Linked DNA regions of Homo sapiens: region 2 is linked to region 1. The links are contacts of gene promoters, found by promoter capture Hi-C in blood cells and fetal thymus (Javierre and others, 2016). All regions are on one chromosome and are shown on one strand. Each heading gives the region's core, a stretch centred on a gene start or on the middle of the fragment in contact. The rest is flanking DNA. Distances are from core to core; before and after follow the strand shown. Region 1 holds the start of HSF2BP (heat shock transcription factor 2 binding protein). Region 2 overlaps LOC107987300 (a long non-coding RNA gene).

The links. The method cuts DNA at HindIII sites, captures the fragments that hold promoters and counts their contacts. A CHiCAGO score of 5 or more calls a contact.
Region 2: a fragment that was not itself captured here is called in contact with the fragment with the promoter of HSF2BP in region 1 in 6 of 17 cell types (M0 macrophages, M1 macrophages, endothelial precursors and 3 more); the score reaches 9.7 in M0 macrophages.

What each region holds. Positions count from the first base shown.
Region 1 is chr21:43,656,653-43,661,269 of GRCh38, forward strand. HSF2BP (heat shock transcription factor 2 binding protein) reads right to left here and starts at 2,836. Exons shown (of 9, transcript NM_007031.2): 1 at 2,734-2,836; 2 at 1,409-1,668; 3 at 1-85. The coding sequence starts at 1,444. RRP1B (ribosomal RNA processing 1B) reads left to right here and starts at 2,908. Exons shown (of 16, transcript NM_015056.3): 1 at 2,908-3,142. The coding sequence starts at 3,013. RefSeq lists a silencer at 2,941-3,130 and an enhancer at 3,851-3,900. The HindIII fragment of the contact is 5,137 bases long and covers 266-4,617 here.
Region 2 is chr21:43,152,467-43,157,471 of GRCh38, forward strand. It overlaps LOC107987300 (a long non-coding RNA gene), which reads right to left. Exons shown (of 3, transcript XR_007067885.1): 3 at 381-4,474. Among named protein-coding and RNA genes, the nearest start is that of FRGCA, 14 kb to the left of the region's middle. RefSeq lists enhancers at 1,553-2,223, 3,339-4,076, 4,077-4,812. The HindIII fragment of the contact is 1,258 bases long and covers 2,761-4,018 here.

The sequences.
Region 1 (4,617 bases), core at 1,586-4,085:
AGTCCCGTATTTGCATCACTTCAGTTGTCAGCCGTTCCAGATCCTTCTTTCTGACTTTAACAAATTCCTCTTTAGTTCCCATGTGCTAAAAGAACAAGCAGATCTTATTATATTTCTCTTCACATGAGAAAAAAAACAACAGCTCAAGTTAACTTGCTTTTCTTTCACACCTCTTATGTGCATCGTTGTTTCAAATCATGTCTCTACCTACTGTATATTCTGCTATAGATATATTTTATGTACATACAAACATTTTGAAAGCTGAAGCTTCAGCCTTCAAAAAGGGAGCCAGATGTTAAAAATAATAAGGACAAACAGGCCAGGCATGGTGGCTCACACTTGAAATCCCAGGAATTTGGGAGGCCAGGAGTTCAAGACCAGTCTGAGCAACATGGAGAGACCCTGTCACTACAAAAATATGAAAACGTGCCCAGGAGGCCCGGCGCAGTGGCTCACGCCTGTAATCCCAGCACTTTGGGAGGCCGAGGCGGGTGGATCACCTGAGGTCAGGAGTTCAAGACCAGCCTGACCAGTATGGTGAAACTCCATCTCACTAAAAATACAAAAATTAGCCAGGTGTGGTGGCCGGCGCCTGTACGCAGCAGGCTGACACGGGAAGAAGGCTTGAGCTCAGGAGTTGGAGGCTGCAGTGAGCTATGATCGTGCCACTGCACTCCAGTCTGGGCAACAGAGCAAGACCACGAAAAAGAAAAGTCATACAAGAGCTCTATTCCTAAAAGTCAAAGAAAACGCCTGCAACTTTTTATCACTGCAGCACCAAACTAATCAGGAGGAAAAGGAAGTCATCTGGTTTCCTACTGGGTTTGCCAAGCCCTCCGCCCGTGATCTCATCTACTATTCACCCCAAGCCTCCAAGATTGTCTAGATGGAAATTAAGGCACGGGAGCTAGATGACTCTCAATGCAGCACAATTAATAACGGGTGGAAGCAGGATGTGAACACGGATCTGGCCCCAGTCCAAGCGCCTTCTCCATCGCATGCAATCAGTTACAGTTATAAAATCGATGGAGGGCAGATTCTCTCTAAGCCTGACGCTAAGTCCCGAAGCAGGGGGCCAGGGCCTTCGGAGGGGAACTGGGCTTCCACGGAGCAGAGAAGAGAGTGACCATCCATCCCACGCTCCCATGCCCGCTTTGGCGCCACTGAGTGCCCCCACCACGCGCAGCCTCACAGACCGGGTCCCCGCGTGGGTTTGGAGGCGAAGTCGCCTCCCGCCCCAGGTCTCCACCCCGCTCCGGCCCAGCCCACGCCGTTAGGGGAGGAAGTCTCCAGGCTTCCCCCAAGCACGCGACAGCGAGCCGTCTCCGAGCGCACGGGGCGAGGCCCTGAGGGGAGCGAATGGCGACGGTTCAAACACGCTGGCGTCGGCCAGGGCTTCCTCACTAACCCGGCAGGCCTCCTCAGCGGCGCCCGCTTCGCCCATGGCCGCTGCCGCCTCCGCTCCGTTCGCCTGAGCGTCGGCGCGCCCTCTGACCCCTCACGCCAGAAAGCGCGGGAACGAATCCACGCCGGGGGTCGGGAACGGAGAGCCGCCAGGCCCAAACCTCCCAGAATTTGCGCAGTATTCTCGGCCTAGAGAGCGAGGAGTGGCCTTGGCGAGGTCCCTCTTTGGCTCTTCTGGCTTAGCCGGGGTTTTAAACTTGTTATCTGCAAAGCAGAAGGAAAGTCAGCCCCTGATGTAAGTGTCAAGTAAAATAAATCGGATGGGTCCTTTCCTGTTTGGCGAGGAATGCTACACTAAGGGGGACTGCGTTCAAATGGGCAGTCTTTGCTGGAAACCTCGCCTCCGCGCGCCTTCCCTCGCTCGGATTCAGGCGCTTTTACGTTAAGGGTTGAATTTTTGTGTCAACAGGCACCTCGGGAGGTCGCCTAGACAACTGAGCGGAGCAACTGAGATAACCCCCGCTACGTGTGGAGTGACCTAGTCCATTAACTTGCCCCAGCACGCCCGCTGAGTCCGCAAAATATAGGATGGCCTCGGGTTTTAGATGAACCCAAAGCTAAGATTTCTTCCCTCTCTGGAATTAGCAAGCAGCCCGCCCTGCCCAACTCCCCTGGAAGCGCGCGTGCTCGCCAGGCCTCGGGACGCCTGCGCGGGCGCCCTTGCACTGGCACCAGGGCTCCGGGGTAGGGGCGCACCGATCTGCCCAAGCCTCTGCAGGCACTGGAGGAAGGCGAGCCCTCCACCCGCTCAACAGGCCCCAGTGCCGGCCTTTCCTTCCAGTCTCAACTCCACCCGGGGGCCCGGGGGCTCCACAGTTAAAAACTCCACGCCACGGAGATCGCAGGTAAGCTGCTGGCTCAACGAGGTGTGCTAAATGGGATTAAAGATCCTGGACCGTGGCCAGGCGCGGCGGCTCAAGCCTGTAATCCCAGCGATCAGGGAGGCCGCCGCGGGAGGATTGCTTGAGCCCAGGAGTTTGAGACCAGCTTGGGCAACATAGCGAGACACCGTCTCTACAAAAAAATAACAAATAGTGGGGCGTGATGGCGCGCGCCTGTAGTCTCAGCTACTTGGGCGGTCGAGATGGGAGGATCGATCGAGTCTGGGAGGTCGAGGCTGCAGTGAGCCAGGATCACCGCCAAGATCGCGCCACTGCATTCCAGCCTGGGCGACAGAGGGAGACCCTGTCTCAAAAACAAACAAAAAATCCTAGACCGTTTACAAACAGCCTTCCGTCTCTTCCTGGTCAAGTCCTAACCCTGGCTAACCTCGCCGTCTACAGCCTGAATTTTGGCAACCGAAAGGCAGCGCCGGCGCCACGTGCACACGGGCTGGGCCGCTCCGCCAGCTGCCAGGGCCACTGCCGCGCTCACTCCCAGAGCGCGCTGCGAGCCGCGGCGCCTTTGTGACGCCATCAGCCCGCGCGCCGCCGCCGCCGCCTTCTGTGCAGTCGCGGCCCGGGCGGACGGTGGCTGGCTGCTCCGCAGCGCTCGGCTGGCTGCAGCGGCACCGCGGGTTGCGCGGCCGGGGATGCTCCAGCGGGCGCGATGGCCCCCGCCATGCAGCCGGCCGAGATCCAATTTGCCCAGCGGCTGGCGTCCAGCGAGAAGGGCATCCGGGACCGAGCGGTGAAGAAGCTGCGCCAGTACATCAGCGTGAAGACGCAGAGGGAGACAGGTGGGCGCACGGCCGCGGTCAGCCGCGCCACATGGCGGGCCGGGGGCCGGGGCTGGGGCTAGGGCCAGGGCCCCGGCACGGAATGCGGCTTCCACGTGTTGTCGTGACACCCAGCGTGTGCTTCGGTTTCCGCGCTGCCGGAACCGCTTCTTGCTGTGTCTAGTGCCTTTTTACACTTAAGGAAACGGGTTGAGGGGGTTCCGTTACTTATGAAAGTCACAGTAAGCGGGGAAGCTGAGAAAAGACCCACATGGGTCCGATTCCCCAGCCGGCATCTCGAATCACTGGGCTGCCCTGATTTGCCCTGGTGTCCGGTCGGTGATTGCCGCCTTCCTTTGACCAGCACCTTTACGTGACGGGGCTGCAGGAGAGAAGACAGACAAAATCACTACCCTCGAGGATCTATTAGTAATAAAGCAAGGAGGCAAACAGGCAAATAAAGTAGACCTTGTGTAAGTGTAGTAAAGGAAATGAAAACCAGGTAGCAGGCCGGGCGCGGTGTCTCACGCATGTAATCCCAGCACTCTGGGAAGCCGAGGCGGGCGGATCACCTGAGGTCGGGAGTTCGAGACCAGCCGGACCAACATGGTGAAACCCCGGCTCTACTAAAAATACAGAATTAGCCGGGCATGGTGGCGCATGCCTGTAATCTCAGTACTCGGGAGGCTGAGGCAGGAGAATCGCTTGAACCTGGGAGGCGGAGGTTGCGGTGAGCCGAGATCGCAGCATTGCACTCCGGCCTGGGCAACAAGAGCGAAACTCCGTCTCAAAAAGAAAAGAAAAGAAAAAAGGAAAAAGAAAACCAGATAATAGCAAAAAGGGAAGGAGGTTGCTCTTCTTGATAGGCTGTTCTGGGAAGGCCTCTCTGGGCTGATAATCAGCTCAGATCTGAAGAGAAATGAGCGGAAACCGCCTATGCAGAGGCAGGAAAGAGCTTCACGTGCCCTAGGAGTGGTTTGAAAGACCAATAAGTTGGGGTTGGGGGGGCGAGTGTTATGAGATGAAGTTGGAGATGTAGGCAGTGGCCAGATCACACAGGGCTTTGTAGTTTAGATTTTAACGGCACTGCTGTTGGATGATTTCATTTACCTGATCCAAAAATACTTTCTATAAACTCTTGAGTGAGCCCATACAATATGAACTACAATGTGTAATAGAGGTTTTAAGATAAAGTTTTATTTAGTTACTGATGGTACTAATACATTTAGAATCTGCTTAAAAGAACAGATATTATCTCCCCCATCACTGACATTCTCAGTTTGTTTTATTTTTAAGAGAAATCACCAGACTACCCAAAAAAAGAAAATACACTTTCCTGGGAAGTCTGATAGAAAAAGGAATAAAGACCAAAATTCCTGACTTTGATTCTGTTAAGAATCTCCCCAAGAGATTTTGTTTAGTCTCACAGTTCCAGGTACCCCATATATGCTGGTGGTTTCTAAACCTAAATTGTTGTCCCAGCCCATTCCTACTTG
Region 2 (5,005 bases), core at 2,140-4,639, 500 kb before region 1:
AACAAGGGGAGGCTGGGGCTAGGTCTGTAAGGCACTGCGGGTCACCGTAAAGAATTTGACTTTTCCCCTGGGTAAGAAGGGAAATCAGGCAAGATGTGGAGTCCAGGAGGGGCCTGATGCAATCCTCGTTTTAGGAATTGCCCCAGCTGCTGGGTGGAGAATAGACTTGGAGGCAAAGCCATAAATGGGAACCCAGGGAGGCACGAACGGCAACCATCCAGGCAGAGGACAGTGCTGTCTTGGATCGAGGTGGTGGGGTGGTGAGGAATGGGTAAAGTCTGGACAGTTTTTGCAGGTAGAGGTGACAGAATTTGCTGATAAATCAGGGATGGGGCGTGTCTCAGTCCGCTTGGGCTGCCGTACAAGATACCACAGACTGAGTGATTTAAATAACAGAAATTTATTATCTCAGTTCTAGAGGCTGGAAGTCTGAGATGAAAGTGTCAGAAGGGCTGGCTCTTCCTGAGGCCTCTCTCTGTGGTTTGCGGACAGCCACCTTCTCCCTGTGTCCTCACAGGGCCTTTCCTCTGGGCACACACATCCCTGGTGTCTCTTTCTCTTTTCTTATAAGGACGCCAGTCCTATTGGATTAGAGCCCCCTGCTTATGACCTAATGTAATGTTGATTACCTCCTCCTATCTCCAAATACAGTCACACTGGGGTTAGGGCTGTAGTAACTCTTGCCTGTAATCCCAGCTACTAGGGAGGCCCAGGCACGAGGATCACTTCAGCCCAGGAGTTCAAGTCTAGCCTGGGCAACATAGTGAGAGGCCGTTTCCTAAAAAAAAAAAAAGGGTTTTTTCGTTTTTGTTTTTGTTTTTTTTTTTTTTTCGAGAAGGAGTCTTGCTCTGTTGCCCAGGCTGGAGTGCAGTTTCTCAATCTCGGCTCACTGCAACTTCCGCCTCCTGGGGTTCAAGCGATCCTCTTGCCTCAGCCTCCTGAGTAGCTGGGATTACAGGTGCCGGCCACCACACCCGGCTAATTTTTGTGTTTTTAGTGGAGACAGGGTTTCGCCATGTTGGCCGGGCTGGTCTCAAACTCCTGACCTCATGTGATCCACCCGCCTCGGCCTTCCAAAGTGCTGGGATTACAAGTGTAAGCCACTGCGCCCGGCCAAGAGTGAAGTTCTGATAGCTGGGGTAAGAAAGGCCGTGGGAACAGCCGGTTTCAGACACGCTGGGTCTAAGACGCTGCGTCTGGCGCTGCTCGGCATCCAATGGGAGCCGTGGAGAAGCCAGGCGAGTGCGTAGGGCGGAGCCAGCGCACAGGAAATAGGACGTGATGAGGTCAACCGGCTGGTCCAAGTGTGGACGGAAGTAGAGGATGCAAGCACCGAGCCCCGGGGCCCCCAGCATTGGCGGGGAGGAGCTCGCGGTGCGGGAGAAGCAGGGGACCGCGCATCCTGGAGACCAGGTGGAGCCAGTGCGCCCGGAAGGGGCGTGGCCCGCTGACAGCCGCCCAGGAGGCCGGGGGAGGCCTGGAGCCGAGGGCCGCGCGTGGCAATGTGGAGAGACATTTTGGTGGAGTCATGGGGCCACAGCCTGATTGGTGAGAACAGGAAGGGAAATTGCAGATGGGCCTGGGCCCCCTGGCTCCCGCATACTCCAGGACCAGGGCTGAGTCATCGTTCACCGTGTGTGACCAGGGCCCCGTGTGGCCGGCTGTCACTCGGTATCCAGTTACCCTGGGCAGACCACTGGCGGCACCCCCCAGCCAGAGGCCGCAGCAACACACACGCCTGCAGGCGACCAGGCCGGACTGCATGCCCCGTGGGGGAACTGAGGGCGTTTCAGTAACAGAGTGTTAGGGGACACGGGTTGGGTGGCTTGGAAAGGGCCTAAGGTGGGGTTTGTTTTAGATTGGGGTGGTGAGGGCGCAGGGGCCCGGTAGGATTCTCTAACAGGGCAGCAGCCACTCATTTAGCAACAGGAGAGGCGTCCAGCGTTTCGTGGGCTGTGCGGTGACCTTGCTTTTGTGCTTAGACACGATTACGGGTGGCCTTGCTTCATCTCCTTCTGCCATGGTCTCGTGGCCCCTGTCTCAGCTGGCGTTCCGGGAGGTTGTTTACGTCCAGGAGGAAAGCAAAAGCCTGGCCCTGAGCATCAGGGTGGCTCTGGACGCCAGGGCTGTACTGTGTTCTTTCTCGACACGAATGAGTTTCTGGACAGTTTTCCCGGCTAGTGCAGACCCACACTGACTGAAAACCGAAATCTTTGCACATGAGAAAAATAACTCCCATGGCAAGGCGTGGCGGCTCACACCTGTAATCTCAGTGCTTTGGGAGGCCAAGGCAGGAAGATCGCTTGAGGCCAGGAGTTCGAGGCCAGCCTGGGCAACATAAGGATACCCTGTCTGTACAAAAATAACAGATTAAAAAAAAAAAACAAAATAACACCCATGGTGCAGCCATTTCTTGGGGGGTTATGGTAATTTTAGTAGCAATCATCTAAGAAGAGGTTTTGTTTCCTCAACCCGAATGCGCTCCCTTTCCTCAAGGCTCTGAGAGCAGCAGGAAGGCTCACCTTCCTTGTTTAGTGAGGTGTTAACCTTCCTGGGTTCACCCCGGTGCAACGGTTTGTGTCATGCATCAACTTGGCTGGGCCACGGCGCCCGGTTTGGTCAAACGCCCATCTGGATGTTGTCGTGGACAGCTGTGTAGATGTGATTCGTATTTAGGTCAGTAGACTTTTAAAGCTGGTGACCTTCCGTCGTGTGGGTGGGTCTTGTCCGGTCAGCCAGAGGCCTTAAGTTCAAAGACTAAGCTTTCCTGAAGAAGAAGGAATTGCACCTCCCTCAAGACTGCAATACAGAAACCCTGCCTGGGTATCCAGCATGCCGCCCTGCAGAACTTGGACTTGAGACCTCAGTCAGCTCTTGCCTGAGTCTCCAGCCTGCCGCCTGCCCTGCAGATTTTGGAAGTGACAACCCCCACAATTGCCCGAGCCAATTTCTTCAAATAAATCTCTTTCCCTCCATCCATCCATTCATCCTTCTGTCCACCTATCCTATCGGCTCTGTTCTGTGGGTTCTGTTCCTCTGGGAACCCTGACAGATGCCCCTGGTTTGGTGGGTGTCATGGTCTCTGGTGCTGGTGCTACACCCTGTTGCTGCCCTGGCCAGAAGCCTGCAGGTGCCTCTGAGCCCACGGAAGCTAAGGGGGCCGTTTCCAAGGGGCCGCATTCCCCGCCTCTCTGCTCTTGGGGCTTCGGTCCATTCGGCCCGCGTGAGAGCTAGGAGTGCCACAGTCGACATCCTCAGTGGGATTGGTACCAGTTGCCTACACCAGCAACCCTCTCATGGAGGAGCCTTCGGTGGCTTTGCTCCTTACCCCACCTCCTGCCCCCTCACTCACTCCTGCTTCCCAGGTCACCTTCCAAAGGCCCCACACCTGCCTTCTCCTCTCCATCCCCCGAGGTGGGGAGCCAACACCCCCCCAGCAGCCCACCTCCCTGCTTTCCCTTGGAAGCACTGCTCTCCAGGTGTCCACAGGCAGCAGGGGTTGGGGGGCTCCTTAGCGCCTTCGCCTTGACCAGGCACGTGGAGTCATGGATCCAGATCCTGGCTCTGAGAGCGCCTGCTTCTGACTGCAGGCCTGGCCGACCCGTGTCATTGCCCCTCGAGGCAGGGCGGAACCTCTGGGTGGGGAAAGGTGGGCCGTGCTGCTCAGGAACCAAAGGCAAACCAGCCTTGTCCTCACGCCCAGAGCTGTGTCCAGCCTCCTCGGCGAGCCTGGGTTGATTCCAGGAGAGACTAAGCACCCACTGTGTCCCACGCCTTCAGCCACGTCGCCCGTCACCTGCGGCCTGAGTGTTCCCTTCCAGAGGGCGTGAAAAACAATTGTCTGCTGAGAGGTCTTTGAAGGGGAAACAAGTGCCCGGGGCAGGCCAGGACCGCAGACTGGATCTTGAGGACTGGCAGCGCAGTGTTTTGTGCAGAAAAGCTAAGGGAGATGTTACGTGCTCAGACCACACGAAGCGGGCAGCATCGTGGCGGGCTTAGCCCGGGCACTGCCTCTCGAAGCTTCCAGGAGCTTCCTGTAACTTTCCGGATGGTGCCGCAGCTGCTTCCCCGGCACCCGGGTCGCCGGGGTTCTGACTGCAGAGGGTTTCTGTGCGGGGTGCGGGGTCCACTCAGGTGAAGCACTCAGGACACCCCTGGTGTGGTGACAGCAGCAGCGTCACTGTCACGGGTGATGCGGCAACAGCTCCTCTCCCTCCTCCAGCACTGGCCTAGGAACTGTTCATTCTTCTGAACACAGCGAATGCCCAGGGCTTGAGCCCCCCTTGCCTGCCTCCAGTCATTTCTGGGTCAGGTGGGCTAAGAACAAACACACAGTGAGTGTCGAGTCTTGCCCGGTGACTGACTGCAGAAGCCTCTGTGTGGCTTCGCTCCCGGATGTCTGAAGGCCCCTCCCTGGGCTGCACGGCGGCTCCTGCGGGGCACTGCGGGAAGAGCCCCAGCTCTCCAGCTAAACCTGTGGGATGCGGCCATGGTGAGAAAAGGAAACGACCATCTTCACGCTGACACTGAGCAAAGAAAAGATAAAACTCATAGCAAATTTACCATGTTAGATTTACAAACGTTAGCAGTGGAATAAATCCAGAGGAAAGAACAAAAGAAAGATTCGAGACCAGCCTGGCCAGCAGGGTGAAACCCCATCTTTACTAAAAATACAAAAAGTAGCCGGGCATGGTGGCGAGCACCTGCAATCCCAGCTACTCAGGAGGCTGAGCCAGGAGAATTGCTTGAACCCGGGAGGTGGAGGTTGCAGTGAGCTGAGATTGTATCACTGCACTCCAGCCTGGGTGACAGAGGGAGACTCCATGTCAAAAAAAAAAAAAGAAGATATGAGTAGAAATGAATGAAATAAAAAACGACATACTGTAGAGAGGATCAACGAAGCCAAAATCTAATAAAATTGATAAACCGCCCCAATTAATCACGAAAGAGGTGGAGACAAATAAACAAGAGGGATGAGAAAAAAAAAAACAAAATGCCCACCACG